Linked DNA regions of Homo sapiens: all the other regions are linked to region 2. Evidence: promoter capture Hi-C in 16 types of primary human blood cells and fetal thymus (Javierre and others, 2016). All regions are on one chromosome and are shown on one strand. The core of a region is centred on a gene start or on the middle of the fragment in contact, and the rest is flanking DNA. Distances in the headings are between cores, read along the strand shown. Region 1 holds the start of ZCCHC10 (zinc finger CCHC-type containing 10). Region 2 holds the start of VDAC1 (voltage dependent anion channel 1). Region 3 holds the start of C5orf24 (chromosome 5 open reading frame 24). Region 4 overlaps HSPA4 (heat shock protein family A (Hsp70) member 4). Region 5 holds the start of PCBD2 (pterin-4 alpha-carbinolamine dehydratase 2). Region 6 has its middle 56 kb from the start of HSPA4. Region 7 holds the start of TXNDC15 (thioredoxin domain containing 15).

Evidence for each region. Contacts are between HindIII fragments. The CHiCAGO score rates a contact against its expected background, and 5 or more counts as called.
Region 1: a contact is called between the fragment with the promoter of ZCCHC10 here and the fragment with the promoter of VDAC1 in region 2, in 3 of 17 cell types (M0 macrophages, neutrophils and total CD4 T cells). The highest score is 8.9, in M0 macrophages.
Region 3: a fragment that was not itself captured here is called in contact with the fragment with the promoter of VDAC1 in region 2 in 1 of 17 cell types (non-activated CD4 T cells); the score reaches 5.8 in non-activated CD4 T cells.
Region 4: a fragment that was not itself captured here is called in contact with the fragment with the promoter of VDAC1 in region 2 in 1 of 17 cell types (naive B cells); the score reaches 5.5 in naive B cells.
Region 5: the fragment with the promoter of PCBD2 here is called in contact with the fragment with the promoter of VDAC1 in region 2 in 3 of 17 cell types (fetal thymus, monocytes and activated CD4 T cells); the score reaches 7.8 in fetal thymus.
Region 6: a contact is called between a fragment that was not itself captured here and the fragment with the promoter of VDAC1 in region 2, in 2 of 17 cell types (naive B cells and total B cells). The highest score is 13.3, in naive B cells.
Region 7: the fragment with the promoter of TXNDC15 here is called in contact with the fragment with the promoter of VDAC1 in region 2 in 4 of 17 cell types (non-activated CD4 T cells, activated CD4 T cells, total CD8 T cells and 1 more); the score reaches 7.4 in non-activated CD4 T cells.

The regions. Positions count from the first base shown.
Region 1 is chr5:133,025,028-133,028,135 of GRCh38, reverse strand. ZCCHC10 (zinc finger CCHC-type containing 10) reads left to right here and starts at 1,587. Exons shown (of 5, transcript NM_001300816.3): 1 at 1,587-1,639. The coding sequence starts at 1,599. RefSeq lists a silencer at 1,308-1,437 and an enhancer at 1,518-1,827. The HindIII fragment of the contact is 6,187 bases long and covers 1-2,932 here.
Region 2 is chr5:134,003,611-134,006,733 of GRCh38, reverse strand. It overlaps VDAC1 (voltage dependent anion channel 1), which reads left to right and starts at 1,759. Exons shown (of 9, transcript NM_003374.3): 1 at 1,759-1,839. RefSeq lists enhancers at 916-985, 1,026-1,085, 1,156-1,275, 2,926-2,975, 2,986-3,035 and silencers at 1,446-1,495, 1,536-1,595, 1,656-2,695. The HindIII fragment of the contact is 5,979 bases long and covers 1-3,123 here.
Region 3 is chr5:134,844,733-134,847,784 of GRCh38, reverse strand. C5orf24 (chromosome 5 open reading frame 24) reads right to left here and starts at 1,817. Exons shown (of 2, transcript NM_001135586.1): 1 at 1,573-1,817. RefSeq lists silencers at 1,392-1,441, 1,472-1,851 and an enhancer at 1,371-2,106. The HindIII fragment of the contact is 1,128 bases long and covers 784-1,911 here.
Region 4 is chr5:133,089,404-133,092,376 of GRCh38, reverse strand. It overlaps HSPA4 (heat shock protein family A (Hsp70) member 4), which reads right to left. Exons shown (of 19, transcript NM_002154.4): 11 at 2,682-2,815; 12 at 1,003-1,184. Among named protein-coding and RNA genes, the nearest start is that of HSPA4, 39 kb to the right of the region's middle. The HindIII fragment of the contact is 1,873 bases long and covers 635-2,507 here.
Region 5 is chr5:134,903,874-134,906,774 of GRCh38, reverse strand. It overlaps PCBD2 (pterin-4 alpha-carbinolamine dehydratase 2), which reads right to left and starts at 1,644. Exons shown (of 4, transcript NM_032151.5): 1 at 1,552-1,644. The coding sequence starts at 1,635. RefSeq lists enhancers at 561-1,146, 1,147-1,731 and a silencer at 1,329-2,088. The HindIII fragment of the contact is 31,150 bases long and covers 1-2,901 here.
Region 6 is chr5:133,106,999-133,110,020 of GRCh38, reverse strand. No RefSeq gene overlaps it. Among named protein-coding and RNA genes, the nearest start is that of HSPA4, 56 kb to the right of the region's middle. RefSeq lists an enhancer at 1,455-1,504. The HindIII fragment of the contact is 180 bases long and covers 1,213-1,392 here.
Region 7 is chr5:134,873,000-134,875,793 of GRCh38, reverse strand. TXNDC15 (thioredoxin domain containing 15) reads right to left here and starts at 1,423. Exons shown (of 5, transcript NM_024715.4): 1 at 1,264-1,423. The coding sequence starts at 1,366. It overlaps LOC124901071 (a long non-coding RNA gene), which reads left to right and starts at 396. Exons shown (of 2, transcript XR_007058943.1): 1 at 396-550; 2 at 662-963. RefSeq lists enhancers at 788-857, 751-1,456, 1,388-1,677, 1,698-1,747 and a silencer at 1,038-1,147. The HindIII fragment of the contact is 3,704 bases long and covers 1-2,303 here.

The DNA of each region.
Region 1 (3,108 bases), core at 338-2,837, 980 kb after region 2:
GCCCAGGCTGGAGTGCAATGGCGCGATCTCGGCTCACTGCAACCTCTGCTTCCCAAGTTCAAGCGAATCTCTTGCCTCAGCCTCCCGAGTAGCTGGGATTACATGAATGCACCACCACGCCCGGCTAATTTTTTTTGTATTTTTAGTAGAGATGGGGTTTCTCCATGTTGGTCAAGCTGGCCTTGAACTCCCAACCTCAGGTGATCCGCCCTTCTCGGCCTCCGAAAGTGCTGGGATTACAGGCGTGAGCCACTGCGCCTGGCCGGGAAAACATTTTCATAAGTACACTGAGGAATGAAAAAATCAAGCTGGAGAACACAACATGTAAGAGCCTATTTTTTTGAAGAACAAGTTGTGCTCAAAGGTCACATCATCACCTTCCCTAACTCCTAATCACTCTTTAATCCCTTACTCTGAAATATTTTTCGTTAGAGTACTTATGCCCATGAGAATAGTCTTCATTCATTGTCTGTAGAAAGTTCCATGTGTACACGGATTTTATTTGTTCAAATGCTCTGTCCTCAGCTCCTAAAACATTTTAAGTGTTAATTATTAATTGAAAAAATATGGCTGGGCGCGGTGGCTCACGCCTGTAATCCCAGCACTTTAGGAGGCCGAGGCGGGCGGATTATGAGGTCAGGAGATCGAGACCATCCTGGCCAACATGGTGAAACCCTGTCTCTAGTAAAAATACAAAAATTAGCTGGGCATGGTGGCGCGTGCTTGTCATCCCAGCTATTCGGGAGTGTGAGACAAGAGAATCTCTTGAACCAGGGACCCAGAGGTTGCACTGAGCCGAGATCGCGCCACTGCACTCCAGCCTGGCGACACAGCGAGACTCTGTCTCAAATTAAAAAAAAAAGGAAAAAATATGGATGACCCAGAAACACACACACACTTCAGAAAATTATATATATTTCAGAGAACGTGGGTTTTAAGAGAATAATAGCTCCGTGAGCTGACATTAGATGTAGGTGCAGCTAAAATATTCTAAAATATTTGTATAGTCCTTTTCTGCTTGATAAAGCAGCTTTAGTTATACAGTCCCATTTAGTACTCGTAACAACGCTGTGAAATACATAAAAAACAGAAATAACGTATATGTTTGCACTCCATGGCTTGCTAAAGTCATTCTTTCAATTGATGGTCTCAATCCTGGTCAACTAATTCCTTTCTATTCTCCAGACTACTTCTAGTTTTCTGAACACCAAAGTTTCATTCTTTGTCTTTGTATGTGTATCCCTCGTTCGAGAATGTTGTCCTCATTTTCCACAGATAATGTTCTTGCCTGTAATCATCCTTTGAAACCCTGTTCGGCCCGAGAACCCGAGACCCATACTGGAGACACCGGCCCCTCCCGACCCACCAGTCCCTCCCGTCCCGACCCTCCAGCCCCTCCAGCCCCTCCCCTCCCGACCCTCCAGCCCCTCCCCTCCCGACCCTCCAGCCCCTCCCCTCCCGACCCACCAGCCGGCACTAAGATACCTCCCCTTAGAAGCCTGTCTGGCCCCGCCTACGTCTACGGCCTCCCGGTTGGAAGCCCCGCCCTTCCGAGGAGTTTCCCAAAACCCTGCGCGGCCGGCTTTGACCGCGCTAAGATGGCGACTCCCATGCATCGGCTAATAGCCCGGAGACAAGCGTAAGTAAGGATCCGGTTCGGGTCCACTGGAGGGCTGGGAGCGGGGAAACGCGCGTCAACGGGCTGGTGTCGGACCCCTATTGGGACCGGCGGAGAATGTCCGTTTCTCAAACACTCTTCTGGCTCCCGGGGGGCTCGGGCCCGGGCGATAAGTCTGGTGACCGGGGGTTAGCGATTTCGCGGAAGACAGCCGCGTAAAGTCTGCGGCACGGGACAGAGCGGGGTTTGAAGACAACTGTCGCGTTTGGTTTCTCTGAAAGGAACGCCCACAGTTGGTCACTCAGTGATTTATGCCCCTCCGCCAACCCCACGCGTGGACAGGGGAGCCCTGAAGCCCCGGTCCGACACCTTTATTCCAGCCGACGTAAACCTTCAGTTTCCTATTCAGTGTCCAGCCCAGCTGCCTTTTCCTACTTCCTTATTCTAGCGCCTTCCTTAGGAACACCCTGCCTTCAATGCCGATTGCTTTCCCAGGCTATCTTACCACCTTTTGCTACTCATTCTCTCTTTCAATAAATATTAATTTATTTAGTTCCTACCGTTCTGTGCCAGACATTGGGTATAAATAGAGGTGTTCAAGACAAAATCCTTGCTTTCAGAGAGCTTACATTCTAGTGATGGAAACAGTCGATAAACCACAAATTGTAAATACAGCTGGTGATAACAGCTTTGAAGGAAGTAAGCTGTTGTGATGGAAAGAGGGAAAGGCCCACTTTAGGTTGGTTGGACTGGAAAGGCATCTCTGAAGAGGTGGAATTTGAACAGAGATTTAAAGGATGAAAAAGGAACAGTCATACGAGGATTTTGAGAAAGAGCATCCGGATAGTGGCATAATTGCTTTGAGCCTGAAACTTACTTTTTACAGAACTGAAAGATAGCCATTACGCCTAATGAACAAGAGAGAGTGGCAGAAGAGATTCATAGCTGACAAATAATGCAAGGGTCACCCCAGATGCCCCTTTCTTTTTTTTTTTTTTTTTTTTTTTTTTTTTTGAGGCGGAGTCTTGCTCTGTCTCCCAGGCTGGAGTGCAGAGGTGCAATCTTGGCTCACTGCAAGCTCCGCCCCCCGGGTTCACGCCGTTCCCCTGCCTCAGCCTCCCGAGTAGCTGGGACTACAGGCGCCCGCCACCATGCCCGGCTGGTTTTTTGTATTTTTAGTAGAGATGGGGTTTCACCGTGTTAGCCAGGATGGTCTCGATCCCCTGACCTCGAGATCCGCCCGCCTTGGCCTCCCAAAGTGCTGGGATTACAGGCGTGAGCTACCGCGCGCGGCAACCCCTTTCTTATAAAGCTTTTTTTTCCAACAGCCTTTGCACATCCAGACATCTGCCTCTTTTTCATAAATATTTCATGCCATCTCCATTTTCATGTCTATATGTAGCTCAGAGTCTGCTAGTATATGTATGTGTGTTTATCTGTATATCTTTTTATATTTTTTAATTCAAATAATCCCTTTTTCTTCTCCTTTC
Region 2 (3,123 bases), core at 510-3,009:
TGTCACTCTGTCAGTCAGGCTGGAGTACAGCGGCTCAATCTCAGCTGACTCCAGCCTCCTCCTTCCAAGTTCAAGCGATTCTCGTGCCTCAGCCTCCTGAGTAGCTGGGACTACAGGCGCGCGCCACCACGCCCGTCTAGTTTTTGTATTTTTAGTAGAGACAGGGTTTTGCCATGTTGCCCAGGCTGGTCTCGAAGTCCTGGCCTCAAGTGATCTGCCTGTCTCGGCCTCCCAAAGTACTAGGATTACAGGCTTGAGCCACTGCACCCGGCCCAGATTGGTTCTTTAAAGCGGAGTTGAGAGGTGGCGCTGGAGGGGAGGAAGCCCTTCGACATTTGCTCCCAGCCTCAAAACTGGGTTGCACCGGCATCTGTTCCTAGCCCTGTGGGGTTCCTGGAGCCCCGCCTTGTCCCGCCCGGCCTCCCTGAGTTCTTGTCCTCCCCCTGCCCACCAGTCTCAGTGTGCGGGGTGGGGACCACCAGGCTGGGAAGCCCAGAGTTCCCAGGCAACTCGTGCGCCTGGGAGGGTCATAGAATCCGTCCTACACTCCTCAGGATCTTGAAGGGGGCTCTTCCTTACATTCCCAGTCACCCCTCCCCCAGCCCCTACACAGGGCCTAGGTAACCTGTCTGCACCCCACTCCCACTCTGTATCAGCTGCCCTCTTCCTCAGCACCCTATCCCACTGGAGCACCTTTTCCAACTCCAGTCGCCACTTTTAATCTGCCGCCTTTTCCCAGCAGCCAGTCCTGATTGCCTCCTCCGTAGCCCCAGTTGCCCACTGCTTTAGATAGTGTCGCAGCTGGCTGTGAGGAGTGTCCTGATTCTGTAACCCGGCACCTCCTCCACAGGGCCCTAGACGCCTCAAGCCTTCCAGGACGTTTGTTGATCAAAGGCGAAGGATGTGTAGAATCTTCGTCCATCTACGAATTAATTCTCGAAACCTGCTTCGAGTGGGCCTCGCGCGTAACACAGGGGACACTCAGTGGTGAACGAGACCACTCGCTTAGGCCTAGCAGCGAGGTGACCGTTCACTCAACACACACTAACTGGGTCCCGCAGGACACGCCCCGGCTGGTCGCGGGGGTTACCCGGGGTGCCCTCAGTCGGCCGGCCGGCCATAACCGGCGTGATCTCCTCGCGCCGAGAGACCCAGCAGGGACCTCGCAAAACCCAATCCACGTTTTGTTTTATTTTGTCTTTTTGCCTCTCAAATGCATGGAAATTGGCTGCTAGTAGCTTTGCTACAGGAGAAAATCGCTAATCTGTAGTGCAAAATCGGCGCACAGGGGTTTTCTCTGAGATTGTCTAGACGCCGCGCGGGCGGGTCGGAGGCGCCAGACACATTGTATCCGGAGCGCGGAGCTCGGGAGCAACAGTCGCCGCCTCTACTCTGTATCTGCGCCGCCCCAGGCGCCCAGTGTCCGCGCTGGGCCTGGGACTGCCCTCGGGGGATGGGGCCCACGCGGGCTTTGATGGGGGGCCGGGGGCCACTTTGTCCACCCAGGCGAGGCTTGGGTCCAGCGCCGGCCACATCAACTCCCGGGGGATCTAGCAGCGCGGAGGCCAAGCAGGAGGCCCAGGAGCCCCGCGCGTCTTCCATTAGCGCAGGGACCTCCGGGCCACAGCTCAGAGAATCGGAAGGCCTCCTCCCCCTTCCCGAGCGCTGCCACTGGGGCCGAGGTTTCCAGCAAGAACCCGCGTGTCCCTGCGCACGCACACACGGTGCACACGTCAGTCCGGCGCCTCCCCGTGCCCCGACTCACGCAGGTCCTCCCGCGCGCCCGCAACACGCCCGCAGGCTCCTGTGTCTGCTGCCGGGGCAGCGGGGCCCGGAAGGGTAAGAACGCGGCTCGCTAGCGGGATGGGGACCCTGGCCCGGCCTGGACGCTGTCCCGGGCGGGGCCTGGGGGCGGAGCGCGCCGGGCCGGGCGCGCAGGAGGGGAGGCGGGTCCGCGCCGCCGCCGTCCGCGCCGCCCCGCCCTTGGCCCAGCCGCTCGCTCGGCTCCGCTCCCTGGCTCGGCTCCCTGCCTCCGCGTCGCAGCCCCCGCCGTAGCCGCCTCCGAGCCCGCCGCCACATCCTCTGAGGTAGGCGCAGCGGAAAAGGACCCCGGCTTCCTTGCGCCCTGGACGGCGGGGGCCAGGCCCCTGGGGAGCTGAGAGGGAGGCGCTGAGGGAGGAGCGGGCGAGGGGCCCCGGCAGCCCGGCCGCGGGGAGGGATCGCGAGCGGCCGGCGCGGGCCTGGCTGGTGAGCGGGCGGGCAGAGAAGGCCGCACAGGCGGGTGCCGAACAGGTCTGGGCTGGGGAGCGCGAGGCCGAGGGTCCAGAGACGCCTGCGGCTGGCGGCGAGAGGCGGCCCGGGCTTGCGGGCGGAAGTGCAAGGGCGGCCGCGTGGAGGCCCGGCGGGCCGCGCGTCTAGGTGACCTTCCCCGGCGGCGCCCTCTGGCCCTGGATCCCACCAGCGTGCATCCGGCGGGGACCCGTTCGCCGCCCACGCTCGCCGGACCAGGCCAGCGGGCGGGTGCCGGCCACGCTGCCGCCTCGGGGATGAGCTCACGTGACGACCGTGGCCCCGAGTCCCCAGGCCCACGCGCCCTGGCCGGCCCACGCCCGCAGAAGCTGGCGCCCGGCACCGCCCGCCTGTGCCAGAGCCTTCTAGAGCGGAACGCGCCGGCCGAGAGTCGACTTAGGCGGTAGAGGCCGGAGCTCGGGCCTGGGCTGAAGGTTTGGCCTCGGAAAAGGAGGCCCCACGGGGAAGGATGTGGCCTTCTTGGTCTTAGGAGTGATTACTGGTTCGGTCGTTCATTCATTCGCCAAATGCGGCGGTGCATTCTGGAAACTGTTTCGGAGCCTGACTTTGGATTAGAGGCCCGCAGTCTTAGTGGTTTGTACAAGGTCACACAGCTGGGAAGTCCCCATACCTTCGTTTTCTCATCTATAGGACGGGAGCAATTGTACCTCTCCTTCGATGAGTTTTGGGGAATAATAAAATGAATTAATTAGCATGAAACCTTTAGAACAGTGCCGGTGTGGAGAAGGGCTAAGTAGAAACCCTGACACCCTTGGGGCTTTTTGGGTGAATCCAGCCCATCCCCCGCAGACCATTTTGCTACACGTGGCGTTG
Region 3 (3,052 bases), core at 98-2,597, 840 kb before region 2:
AGGTTGCAGTGAGCCGAGTTCGTGCCACTGTACTCCAGCCTAGGAAACAGACTCCATCTCAGGAAAAAAAAAAAAAAAATAGGATGAATACTACATTTCCAGACAGCGTGGACTGAATAGAAGCCAAGAGTTATAGAACAGGTTGTGTAGACTATCAAAGGTTAAAGATCATCTTTTTAAATAGTTACTGAAGCCGGGTGCAGTGGCTCACGCCTGTAATCCCAGCACTTTGGGAGGTTGAGAAGGGTGGATCACGAGGTCAGCAGTTCGAGACCAGCCTGGTCAACATGGTTAAACACCATCTTTACTAAAAATACAAAAATTAGCTGGGTGTGGTGGCGCATGCCTATAATCCCAGCTACTTGGGAGGCTGAGGCAGGAGAATTGCTTGAACCCGGGAGGCAGAGGTTGCAGTGAGCCGCGATCGCGCCACTGTACTCCAGCCTGGGGGACAGAGTGAGACTCCGTTTCAAAAAAAACAAAACAAACAAAAACAACCAATAAATAGTTCCCTGAATGTACAGGAGTCAACTAAGAGCTTCTATATATTTGGACTGTGACTAAATTCGAATACTTAAAGCATAAGCTAAAACTTACCATCCTTGAAGTTGTTTTATTGTGTTTAACTCCTAAAGTTTAACCCCTAAAATGAGCCGTTCTTTATAGAACAATTCCTTTCTCTTCTCTTGAATGTGGCAGTCATTACTGCCAACATAAAGAAATGTAACTATTTTTAGTAACTTCACAAAGCATCCCTGAAGCTTTCTAAACATGGAGAAAGCTTCCTTTCAAGAAACCCAAGTTCTGTTCTCCAAAGATCAAAGATCACGTAATTCTCAGAGATTTATTTCAGGTCATTTGACTAACTATTATGTATAATCATATACGTTTCATAATTCTAAATGAAGATTTGCAACTCACCTCAATCACTCTGAAAGTCCATTCAGCAGAGGCCAATAGCCACGCACCCTGCCCCACCACGGAAAGTTTTGATAATAGGACGGCACATAAATAACGGCCTCCTTTGTCTTCTTCCTGCTCCTTAACTGTGCCCCACGGTGCACAAATAAGGACTCTCCTTATTTTGACACGAGGCGTTTAGAATGTATTACCTGTTGTGTGCTGAAAGCGACTATTAGCGTATTGGCAATAACAAGTTTGCAGAAGATGCACGCCACCCTAGAGAAAGGGTTGTGTACCCTCTAAAAAGCAAAATTCATAAGCCGCTATCCGTCCACTCGGAGTTCCGCAAGCGTAGAAGTCCACGGGCACTCCATCGCGACGCCGATCTCGAGCCGGCAGGCTTTTATTTAAAGGCGAAGGGCGGACTGCGGATTCTGACCTCTCAAAGAAAAGAAAGGGGGCTCCCTCCCCCCGCCGCAGGAGGAATGTCCCCCCGTAATGGCTCCACACCGGGGAAGAGCAGGCTACGTCCGGGGCCCCTCCTCTCACTCCGGCTACACTAGGGCCCCTTGGCAGGAGGCCTCTTCTCCCCGGTCAGCGAGGCGCCCGTTCTCGCCGCCGCCCTACCCCGCTCCCGGCCGGCTGACCAGCCCGCGCACCCCTACCTACCTCAGCCGCTCGTAGCCCGGCCCCTCGGCGCGTCTAGGGGCTTCCCAGCGGCTGGGAACCTCGTGCTGGCGCCGCTCCCTCCCCAGCCCGCCGCCTCTGCACGGTGCGGAGAACGGGCCAAGACGGAGTGGCAGGCAGCGAGGGCGGCGGCGAGGCAGGCGCTGGCTCCCAGCACCCGCCGCGGCCGCCGCGCACGGTCCTGCCCCGGACGCAGTACGAAGAGGCCGCTACCACCCTGTAGTGTTAGAGGCGGCGTGCGCGAGCTCGCGAGGGCCGCGCACGCACACGCTCACTCGCATCGCGAGACCCGATCTCCCGCCGCCAACCTGCACGCAAGCTTTGGGAGGGAGCCAGGCTGGCAGGCTGCGCTTGCGCGTCGTGGCCTTAAGCCTGAGCTGCTGGTGATCCGGCGTGGACCGTCCCCAGTGGCTGGGGTTGAGGAACCCACCAAATGGGGAATTAATAACTTCCTTACTTGTATTGGTTTTCACCACAATTCTGAGATGCTGGAACTCCTGCTGACCCCATTTCTTAGATACAGGACAAATAAATGATAGTCAGGGGAGTTGGGACTCTTCATGCCCAGGATCATGTGATAATGAAAAGCTTTATTTTATGGGACATCCTATGATCCACGCAGATTACAGGCGTAAGCCACCACGCCCCAGGAATTGTCGCATTCATTATTCCATAATCACAGGAAAGGATGGAACAACAAACTACCGCTATTATGTTTTTCTTGTGAGATATCTGACATATCAGTCACCTCACACAAACCCACTTAGAAGGGATTCATTTCCTCACTCCTTCCTCCTGTGAATTTCCAGATGTCAGAATGGAGAGGATCCAGAATTAGGGCAGCTACTGAAAGGGAGACACTTTATTAAGCAGTGGGAAGAGGCTAGAGGAGGATGCTTGCCCTTTTCCCCCATGTAATGAAGGATATTTGAGGATGGACAATTCATAGAACTGAGTTCTACCATAAGCACAGCCCTGAGCCAGGTACTGCCCTGCCAGTAGGAAAGAAAGGAGGAGAAACAACTTTTCTGGACAAACACACAAGCCAGGACACAACACACGAAACAAGCAAGCCCATTCATTCAAACTACTGAGGGACTGGAGACAGATAAGCCATGTGAACAGTTGATCAAACCTACACCAATAAAAACTCTGGACAGCCTGGGTGCGGTGGCTCACGCCTGTAATCCCAGCACTTTGGGAGGCCGAGGCGGGCAGATCACGAGGTCAGGAGTTCGAAACAAGCCTGACTAACATGGTGAAACCCCTTCTCTACTAAAAATACGAAAATTAGTTGGGCATGGTGGTGCGCACCTGTAATCCCAGCTACTCGGAAGGCTGAGGCAGGAGGATCGCTTGAACCCAGGAGGTGGAGGTTGCTGTGAGCCGAGATCGCACCACTGCACTCCAGCCTGGGACAGAACGAGACTCCGTCTCAAACAAACAAACAACAACAACAACA
Region 4 (2,973 bases), core at 322-2,821, 910 kb after region 2:
TGAAGAGAGCATAAGCTTCTCCAGGCTTCCTCAAAGGTATTTTCTCTCAAAAGTTCCAACTTTTTCAAATAGTTCCTAAGTCAGCCTCTCTTCATCCTCAAAAGTATGACCACTGCATGTGCTCGGGGAGGCGAACACGTTAAAATTACAAAGCCTAAAAATAACAATGAAAGAAGGTTTGTGGAGAGCCTGAACCAGTGGCTTCTCAATGCCTGCAACATATTAGAATGACCTGAGAGGCTTTTAAAACTACTGCTACCTCAGCTCAGACCAACTTCAGTAAAATCTGTGGGGATGAAACCCAAGCATTTGTAGTTTTGTTTTCCTTGAGGCAGGGTCACACTCTGACACATAGGCTAGAGTGCAGTGGCGCAAACAGGACTCACTGCAGCCTTGACCTCCTAGGCTCACGCAATCCTCCTGCCTCAGCCTCCCATGCAGGTGGGACCACAGGTGTGTGCCACCACACCTGGCTAGTTTTTTTGTTGTTGTTGTTGTTGTTTTTAACTTTTTGTAGAGATGAGGGTCTCACTTTGTTGCCCAGGCTGGCCTCAAACTTCTGGGCTCAAGCAATCTTCCTGCCTCAGCCTCCCAAAGTGCTGGAATCATAGGTAATTTGTAGTTTTGTAAAGCTTTGATTCTGATGCACAATGAAGACAAGACCCAGTGCATAATTCCAACAAATGAGTGTACAATCAATTCTACTTTTGAAAATAATTAACTGAGACTCAGAGCACTCTTCAACAACCAGAATCAGGAATAACTCAAGTTGAGAAGTGTATGATCTGAAAGAAGAAATCAACTTGTGTTCCACTTCTATACAAATTCTGCATAAAAATCTACTGCTGGTTCACTTATATTGGGGGAAGGGCAAACATACAAACCCACTCTCACTCAGCAGCTCTGTCACAATGCTCCGGCCTTGCCACCAAGTCTGCTTGCTACAATTTCTAGACAAGTCACCTCTGGGCCATCACAAGTGGTATACAATGTCTAGATTACCTCTTCCTCCTTTGCATTCTGATCTGTTTCCATTGGCTCCTCATTTTCCTCAGACTTGTGAACCTCCACTAAAGATGCACTGGACACACTGAAAATGCCATGGACATTTACTCGAACTTTGACTTTCACTTTTGAACTGGAGCCATCAGACTGAGGAGTGACTTTCTGAACTGAAAACTGAGCTAGGGACATACGAGAGACAAAAGAACACATAACCTAAGAGGATGAATTCAAGCATGAATATATGCCTACATTGCTAGATTATGTCTACTTTCAATGATAGCTCAGTAACATGATGCTTAAAATAAGCAAAATCGGTCCTTTTAGAATCTTATTAAATCATCAGATTTCTCTTTCTTCTTTCACAGTCTCTTATTATCTTATCCTGCCCCAATTAAGAACTCAAATATCTCCCGATTCTTTCCTTTCTTCCAATTTCTTATTTCCATTTATCTTTATATGCTACTTTCAGATTAATTCCTAAAACAGATTTGTCACATTCTCTACTCAAAAAACAAAACAGAAAAAAAAAATGATTCCACTCTGCTTGTCGTTTATCAGTAAATTGCCATTTCTAGGTCCAGTGACTGTACAAGGTTTTTATTTACATTTTCTTCATTCCCAGAACTCTGCAAAGTATGAATTATCATTGTTATTCCTGGTTTTACAGATTTACAGATGGGGAAAAAAGAATAGGTTAACTTTCCACAGCTTCTAAATGCCATTCAGGATACTCCTAATTTCTTTACCCATATATTCTAGGTCTTTATACTATAACTAGTTTCTATCTCTTCTCAACTAGTATTATTTCCAGATAAGAGTTTCCCAGAGTCTATAACTACTCTAGATAACACGGTTCTGAAACCTAGTATGTTTTGATATTGTATCACCATCTCCTAATGATTTTCTATATACATCCTTTTTTTTTTTTTTTTTTTTTTTTTGAGACAGAGTCTCGCTCTGTCGCCTAGGCTGGAGTGCAGTGGCGTGATCTCAGCTCACTGCAAGCTCTGCCTACCGAGTTCACGCCAGTCTCCTGCCTCAGCCTCCCAAGTAGCTGGGATTACAGGCGCCCGCCACCACACCTGGCTAATTTTTTTTTGTATTTTTTTAGTAGAGACGGGGTTTCACCATGTTAGCCAGGATGGTCTCGATCTCCTGACCTGCCCGCCTTGGCCTCCCAAAGTGCTGGGATTACAGGCGTGAGCCACCGCACCTGGCTATTTTCTATATACATCTTATAACTGTATGTTAGGGTCCAAACTGAATTTCGTTAACTCCTTATAGTATATAGCACCACCTTATACATAAGTTATAATTACAATGTGCGCTAACCAAGAAAAACTGCCGATACAATGGGAGATCCAATTAAATAACAGCCATTTGGCTGGTTCTAAACCTGCTAACGAGACTGGAAGAGGTTTTCTTTTGCAATCTAAAGCCCCTAAATTTCAGAATACCATACTTGTTCTTTCTACTATGCGAACTCTCCAAGTAGATAAGCTTTTTTTTGTTGTTGTTTAAATGGAGACAGGGTCCCACTATGTTGCCCAGGCTGATCTCGAACTCCTCAGCTCAAGTGATCCTCCCACCTTAGCCTTTCAAAGTGTTGGGATTACAGTTGTGAGCCACTGTGCTTTTTTTTTTTTTTCTTTTTTAATTTCCAACTCTTTACTTACCTATAGCAGGATCTGGATAGGGCAAATCCTGAGGAGAGCTGTAGTAGGCCTCAAGAGTGAAAGGTTCCTTTCTATAAAATGTAAGAACTTTAGAGAAAGGAGCAGCATGATTTTTGGAAAAGACTTCACAGTCACTGAATGGAGGAAAAAGACAAAAACACAAATTCAGGATATTCCTAACACTTTTACCCATGTGTTCTAGGTTTGTAATTATTGTACAGTGTTAGTTTCTCTCTCTTTTCAATTGGTATTATTTCCAGATTATAAGAGTTCCCAAGAATCTTTATATATA
Region 5 (2,901 bases), core at 395-2,894, 900 kb before region 2:
GTAGTGGGGATATTATAATATCTACCTGCCAAGATTTTTTGAAAGGCTTAGATTACAGATCTTGAATGTGAGGGTACCTAGCATTGAGCCTGGCATGGGGCAGCGCTCAAATCATGTCTGTTGACTCATTCCTTCCCAGAACACCCTAATCTTACTGGATCACTAGCACCTGGGGCAGAGTACGCCTGAAGACACGCCTAGGTGACAGTAGGCACTCAACTTGTGTTCTCCCCTTCGTGGACAAGAAGCGGCGGAGTGCCTATCTTCCTCCGTCTTCGAGCTATTTTAAATTTCTTCTATTACAGCACTTTGGGAGGCCGAGGAGGGTGGATGACGAGGTCAGGAGATCGAGACCATCCTGGCTAACACGGTGAAACCCCGCCTCTACTAAAAATACAAAAAAATTAGCCGGGCGTGGCGACGGGCGCCTGTTGTCCCAGCTACTCGGGAGGCTGAGGCAGGAAAATGGCGTGAACCCGGGAGGCGGAGCTTGCAATACGCCGAGATCGCGCCACTGCACTCCAGCCTGGGTGACGGCGTGATTCTCCTTCTCAAAAAAAAAAAAAAAAAAAAAAAAAAATTCTTCTATTAAAGAATTTCAGGCCAGGCGCAGTGGCTCGCGCCTGTAATCCCAGCACTTTGGGAGGCCGAGGCAGGTAGATCACCTGAGGTCAGGAGTTCGAGACTAGCCTGGCCAACATGGCGAAAACCCCTCTCTACTAAAAATATAAAAAATTACCTGGGCGAAATGGCACGCGCCTGTAATCGCAGCTACTCGGGAGGGTGAGGCAGGAGAATAGCGTGAACCCAGGAGATGGAGGTTGCAGTGAGCCGAGATCGCGCCACTCCACTCCGGGCTCGGCGATACAGCGAGACTCCGTGTCGAAAAAACAAAACAAAACAAAACATTTCAAACTGAAATGGGCGGTTAAAATGCAACTTAAAATGAGATGGTGAGTTTAACGCACCACTTTTCCACTAGGTGGTGCTGCATGTTAAAACTTTCCCTCCATTTACTCCAAAATATTAATTTCTACAGCAGGAAAACTGACGGCCCCTTGGAAAAGGAAAGAAAAGTCAATATGTCACCAAAAAAGACAATTTATTAATAACTCCTCCAAAACCTCTGTGGGTTCCCCTTGGAGTGAAGCGCGAGCAGGGAGCCGCCATAGGGAGCCAGGCCCGCAGCGCCGTTCGTCCTCAGCACAACGAGCGGCAGCGGGCACCGAATTGTTCTGCAACTACTTTTCACATCTGCCTTTTGTAGTTGCTGAACAAAATTCGTTCCCATTTGTTTCCGGTTGGCAAGTTCGTAGGCTTCGGCGGAAGTGTAAAGTCAAGGGCAAGTGGCGGAGGCTGCGGCCACCCCGGTCTCTGAGCGGCGCACCGGACAGGTGGTCAGTCCCGGGACGCGGTGACCCGACGCCCGAGCTCCAAGGCTCGGCCCACGCCGGGTTCGCCCCAGTCCCGCTGGTCCCTCAGCCGACGCCGCCGGGCCTCGCACCGCCCCCCGACCCCGGACCCCCACCCACGCGGCCGCTGTGCACTCACCATGGCCGCTAGCCCTAGGCTCTGGCCTCGCAGCGCCGCCAACAAGCGCCGCGTCGCCCCGAGCGCCCCGAGCACCGCCGCCATTGGCCGTCTGCCGAGGGCTGCCCCGCGCGCTGCCTGCCGGCCGCCCACAGCCGCCCCCGACCCGACCACGCCCAGCTACCGCCAGCCCTGGTAGTCTCCCTGCGGGGCTGGCCCGGAGCGGGGTCTGTGTGTGGGAAGCGCCCAGCCTTCCCGCGGGCACAGGCGCAGCCCGGACCCCGAACACCCCCAGGAGCTTCAGCGGTCGCCAGCGCCCTTGGCCGCCAGGTGGACTCTGCGCGCCCCACAGCCGTAGGCCCAGCAGGCGCGCGCGGTCCCCGCCCCGTGCGGGCCCGTCGCGTCTGTGCCCGGGACGCAGGTCGCCCGGCGCGCGCTGGCCTTGCCCTCCGGTCCTCGCTGCGCTAGGAGGAACTTCGCCCAGCCTCGGGCGCCGGCCTCCTCCGCTTCGCGGGCGCTAGCACCGAGCTGGGCTCCCCGCTTGGCGGCGCTGCGCGCAGTCCATGCGGGCAGGAGGATGTCGTAGGCCAGGGCGGGGCAGTTGAGCGGCGGGGCTGGGGCAGTGAACCACGGCAGTTCCCATCGGGGGCTCCTAAGTCTTGCAGTAGTGGGTTCGAACGCAGCCTCTGTTCAGTCATCACGCAGCTGCCAAGTTCTTGAGCCAGCTGGCTCGTCTGGGTTTGCCTGGACCAAAAAGTGTGGAAACCCGGCCTGTAATCCCCTCCCAAACGTGTCCGTGCCCTGTTTACCCCCAGGCTCAGCACACAGTAGGAGCTCTGCAGACAGCTGTGAACAGATTTAGGTGAATCTTTTCTTGTATCATTTTTGGGGAGGTATTCTTTCATTCTTTTTTTTTTTTTTTTTTTGACTTTTTTGAGATGTAATTGACATACTATTAAGAATACTCACTTGTATCTTTTTTTTTTTTTTTTTTTTTTGAGACGGAGTCTCGCTCTGTCGCCCAGGCTGGAGTGCAGTGGCGCGATCTCGGCTCACTGCAAGCTCCGCCTCCCGGGTTCACGCCATTCTCCTGCCTTAGTCTCCCGAGTAGCTGGGACTACAGTCACCCGCCACCACGCCCGGCTAATTTTGTTTTTGTATGTTTAGTAGAGACGGGGTTTCACAGTGTTAGCCAGGATGGCCTCAATCTCCTGACCTCGTGATCCGCCCGCCTCGGCCTCCTAAAGTGCTGGGATTACAGGCGTGAGCCACCGCGCCCGGCCTCTTTTTTGTTTGTTTTTAACTGAATAGTTTAAGCAGGCCAGGCATGGTGGCCCGCACCTGTAATCACAGCACTTTGGGAGGACAAGG
Region 6 (3,022 bases), core at 53-2,552, 900 kb after region 2:
AGGGTCATGGCCCAGGGCTGCCCCAGCCAAAGCCAAGTACATCCAAGGAATGTACTGGCAACTCCAAGATTCCCAATGGTCTCAAGTAAGTGGTGGGAACCATCCCCATTTACACACAGGACACTGCCCAACCTCCTTTCTCGCAGACTGATGCCTCATTTCAGAGGCCAAGCTTCTTTTTTTTTTTTTTTTTTTGCTTTTTTTTTTTTATTTTTTTTTTTTATTTTTTTTTTTTTAATTTATTTTTTTATTGATAATTCTTGGGTGTTTCTCACAGAGGGGGATTTGGCAGGGTCATGGGACAATAGTGGAGGGAAGGTCAGCAGATAAACAAGTGAACAAAGGTCTCTGGTTTTCCTAGGCAGAGGACCCTGCGGCCTTCCGCAGTGTTTGTGTCCCTGATTACTTGAGATTAGGGATTGGTGATGACTCTTAACGAGCATGCTGCCTTCAAGCATCTGTTTAACAAAGCACATCTTGCACCGCCCTTAATCCATTTAACCCTGAGTGGACACAGCACATGTTTCAGAGAGCACAGGGTTGGGGGTAAGGTCACAGATCAACAGGATCCCAAGGCAGAGGAATTTTTCTTAGTGCAGAACAAAATGAAAAGTCTCCCATGTCTGCTTCTTTCTACACAGACACGGCAACCATCCGATTTCTCAATCTTTTCCCCACCTTTCCCGCCTTTCTATTCCACAAAGCCGCCATTGTCATCCTGGCCCGTTCTCAATGAGCTGTTGGGCACACCTCCCAGACGGGGTGGTGGCCGGGCAGAGGGGCTCCTCACTTCCCAGTAGGGGCGGCCGGGCAGAGGCGCCCCTCACCTCCCGGACAGGGCGGCTGGCTGGGCGGGGGGGCTGACCCCCCCACCTCCCTCCCGGACGGGGCGGCTGGCCGGGCAGAGGGGCTCCTCACTTCCCAGTAGGGGCGGCCGGGCAGAGGCGCCCCTCACCTCCCGGACAGGGCGGCTGGCTGGGCGGGGGGGCTGACCCCCCCACCTCCCTCCCGGACGGGGCGGCTGGCCGGGCAGAGGGGCTCCTCACTTCCCAGTAGGGGCGGCCGGGCAGAGGCGCCCCTCACCTCCCGGACAGGGCAGCTGGCTGGGCGGGGGGGCTGACCCCCCCCACCTCCCTCCCGGACGGGGCGGCTGGCCGGGCGGGGGGCCGACCCCCCCACCTCCCTCCCGGACGGGGCGGCTGAGGCCAAGCTTCTTGACCAAGTACTCAGCACCTGCAGCCTCACCTCAAGCCCCTTCACCCCACCCAGCTCCCACCCTACTGAAGCATCTAACCCTGCTGGCCACTGCCACATCTCACATCTCTAGCTCCCTTCCTCCCAACATGCTTTATGCATCATAACTCCTCTCTGGCAGTTCCTTCTTTCAAAGCTTTTACTTCCTCTTCCTAACACATCTCAACACAAGCCTTCATCCCGTCAATGAGGAACACGACTCCAGCCCCAAAAGCTTCCATCCACACCCACCTGGAGCTTCGATGTCTCAACCCCACCCAGGAAAACTTCTCAATCTAAACTCCCACCACATCTCCAATGACTCAAGACTAGAAGCTCCACATGTACAATCATATCCCGTATTCTAGGTTTGAAACCTTGGAGCCATTCTTCTTAAAACACACTTCTAGTTTTCTTAACATTATAAAATTCCTAAATGCTTTTATTAGTGACAGGAGGCGGTGGGGGGTAGGGGCTTGTCTCCCCATGTTGCCCAGGCTGGTCTTGAACTCCTGGACCCAAGAGATCCTCCCACTTTGGCTGGGATTACAGGCATGAGCCACCATGCCTGGCCCTAAATGCTTATTGTAGCAAACTCTGAAAACAGAAACAAGCAAAAATAAACAATCACCCACAATCCCACCCTAAAAACCACTTCATCTGGGAAAATCCTTCTGGCTTTTTTATTGCAAACCCATTTAATGTTCTTTCAAAACATGAGAGGCTATGTAGTTTTATAACCTACATTGTGTGTGTAAAAATGTAGGCCAGGCATGGTGGCTCACACCTGTAATCCTGGCACTTTGGGAGGCCAAGGTGGGCAGATCACAAGGTCAGGAGTTCGAGACCAGCCTGGCCAATACAGTGAAACCCTGTCTCTACTAAAAATACAAAAATTAGCAGTGCGTGGTGGCGCACGCCTCCAGTCCGTTACTCGGGAGGCTGAGGCAGAAGAATCACTTGAACCCGGGAGGCAGAGGTTGCAGTAAACCAAGATCCCGCCACTGCACTGCAGCCTGGGTGACAAAGCGAGACTCCATCTCAAAAAAAAAAAAAAAAAATACACACCTTTCTGTTAAAGCCACTTAAAATTATTGAAATAGATCAAGTGTACATGAGTACACTATCAAGTCAGATCAAAAAACAAGCATCACCAAGCCTCACATCATGTTGTCACTACTCCACAAAGAGTAACTACTATCCCAACTTCTAAAGCATGGTTTTCAGCTGGAACCATGCTTACATCTTCCCTCTTCCTGCAGGTACCAAAACCAGCAATTTTCCCCTTCATTTGGCTGTCCCCTCAAAGGTGGACTAAGTCCCACTACCTCCAACAACCCCCAGGCCCCCTGTGCCCCTGCAAAGCAGCTCCCACTGCCCCACAACAGAACCCTGATCTCTCAGGCCCCCACCTTTTAAGGAGACAGGGTATCACTTTATCACCCAGGCTGGAGTTGCAATAGCACAATCTCAGTTCACTGCAGCTTTGACCACCTGGGCTCAAGTGATCCTCCTGCCTCAGCCCCCCAAGTATCTGGAATCACAGGTGCACACCACCACACCCAGCTATCTCAGCTCTTTCTACCACATCTAACAATTCCCCTACAGAAACCACTTACATGCTCAGGAGGAAACCAAACCTACTAGACACACGTTTCTCAGACACGTGGCTACAATAGGCCCTGGGTAGGCCCTGGCAGGTAAGCTGCTCCTACAGCCAGAGGACTAGGACTGTGCAAGGGGCATGACCCAGGGAACAAGACCCCTGACCCCTCCTCGTCTAGACCCA
Region 7 (2,794 bases), core at 174-2,673, 870 kb before region 2:
GGAGGCTGAGGCACGAGAATCGCTTGAACCCGGGAGTCAGAGGTTGCAGTGAGCCAAGATCGCGCCACTGCACTCCAGCCTGGGCAACAGAGCGAGACTCCATCTCAAAAAAAAATAAAAATAAAAATTACATAAACCGGGAGCAGTGGCTCACATCTGTAATCCCAGCACTTTGGGAAACAGGTGGGAGGATCACTTAAGCCCAGGAGTTCAAGGCTGCAGGGAGCCATGATGGGCCACTGCACTCCCGCCTGGGCAACAGAGCAAGCCCTCATCCCTTAAAAAAACAAAAACAAAACAGTAAAGATTCCAAAAGATGATGCTCGTAAAGCACTGAGCACAGCATCTGGTACACAGTGAGCGCTTTCATTCATGGTAATTGTGTTACTATGACTCACCCTTCTCCACAACTCTCTGCTGTCCTGCCTCCATCCAGGACACCCCAGGGAAAAGAAAGACCTGCCTATTCCTGTTAAGGTCTAAATGACAAGCGAGACCGAGGGTCTGGACTTTAACAGGACTATGAGGAGTGGGGTGAAGGAGCATGAAAGTAAGGCCTCCACTCTCCACCCTCGCCATGCCTCTAGAGTGGCTGCCTTCCCTACCGGCAAGTTGGGGGTTACCGGGAGTCTCCCGTGTTTCTCGTCTGTTTTTCATGCAGGGAGCTGAGCAAGACTGGCCTCCTTAAGACAGTGGTCCAGCAGCGTGGACTCCAGACTGGGCTTTGGCGTCAGAGAGACAGGCTTCTGCCACGTATCAGAAGCGCAAACTTAGGCGGGGCCTGAGCATCTTCATCTGTGAAATGGAGACACTAAACGGAACCGATCTGACAGGGTTTGTGGGAGCATTAAATGGGATAATGATGTAAATAAAGCACGATGCACAGTTCCTGGCTCCTAATACGGCCACAACAATGTCGGTATTTGATATAATGTTATTAATAATAAATTGCTTATCACCAGAGGGTATGCCTCAGCAGCGCTTACCGCACTGTCCCTCCTGGCTACCAGCCACGGGCTGAGGGCGGCCTGAACGCGGCCCAACCACCCCCGGGCTCCCGTCCACCGGCCCTCAGCCCACCGGCCCCCTTTCGCGGGCCACCAGCGGGCGGTGCGCGGGGAGAGAAGTCGGGGAGACGCGCCCGGGGAGACGCCAAGAAGGGGCGAGTCGCGCACCGCCGGCCTTCGCGCAGGTCCAGAGCGTCGCCCGGGTGGACCTCAGCTCGCCCCATCATCTCATGCACCGCCCCCGGCCCACACTCACCCTCCACGCCGCGGACGGGAAGTCCCAGCACCCACAGCAATACTTGCCACCAGCCGAGGAGCCGCATGACGCGGGGCGGTCGTCGACCGGCAGCCGGGACCATTGCCCAGGCCGAGAGGCAATCGGCGCACGGCTACGCGAGTCGTGCTGCCAGCCGGAGGAAGGCTGGGGGAGGAGAGCCTGGGAGCGCGGGCGCGGCCCCGCGCCGCCATCTTAACACCTGGCAGCTGTGGCGGGCGCCATCTTGGAGTCGGGCGGACGGCCTCTAGCCGCTGGCCGTCGGCGCTGGACTGGAGACCTCTTTAGGAGCTAAGCGCCAGACGTTGCAGGTCGTTTTGAACTCTGCTGACCCCAGAGTGCAGAGCATGGCTCTGGCAGAGGCCCATGGCCTCCTTTCTTCCCTCGGAAGTCAGAGCTTGGCTACTTGAAGCACTGCGCCCGCCTAAGGAGGGTTTTCCACGCTTCATTCCCAGAGCCAGAAAGGCCCAGGAGCCTTCCTGTTCTAGTGTCCCATCGAGGTGCAGAAACTTTGGAGGCTGCAAATCTTCTAATCGCTTGCCTAACCTGTGCTCCCCTACCTAGGGTTGCCACATAGAATACCTGATACCCAGTTATATTTGAATTTCACATAATGAATATTTTTTACTATAACCCTTATAGTATAAGGGATATACCTTAAAACTGAGCATCCTGTAACTTCGTGACATCTGGCAACCCTAACCCTACCTATCCACTCAGGGCAGGAGAGGTTGGTTTTAACTGATTTACCTTGCAGGGCAATCTCTTTTTAATCATGGTTGGGGCCGTGAGCATCATTGGCTCTGGCTCATGGTGGAGGTGGAGCCACCTCGAGCATAAAGTAGATAGGAAAGGGCTTAGAATGAAGAAAGCATAGATGGGGAGATGAGGAACAGGGCTCTGCATTCCCAAGCAAACGCACAGAGCGGGAGTCTTAAGAGAAAATTCTTGGAATAGAGAGGATGACACCACTAATTGGGGTATTTTGCCGGGGGGCCTGCTAAAATGGAATAAGGCAAGCTTTAAGCAGCCACCAGTCAGTGCTAAATCAGTGCAGAGTGCAGCTTTTCAAACTTATGAGGTTGAAAAAATAGAAACTGATTTAAAATACATCAGTCTATTGGTTAACATAGCAATGGTAAGGGGAACCTGTGCTTTTTGGCCGCTTGGTGAATCCCAACTTCAGCACATGTGATAGTTCACAGTCAGCAGGTTATGTAACTTAAAGTTAAGTTTCTTCAGCTGTAAAGTGGAAATGACGTTATATAGAGTCTTATAGATGAAATGAGATGTAAAGTGATGAGCACAGTGTCCTGGGGCACAGGAAGCATTTCAAAGTGGTAGGCATTATTAATTGAATAATACAATTCTGATGGTGTGGCCATAGTCCCCTTATCTCTATGCCCATCAAAAAGACACTGTTAGGCCAGAAAGATGCATCATTAATCTGTCCCTGTGGATGATTCTTTTATTCTAAATACGTTGGTATGGTTTTGCTGTTGTAGATCCTCAA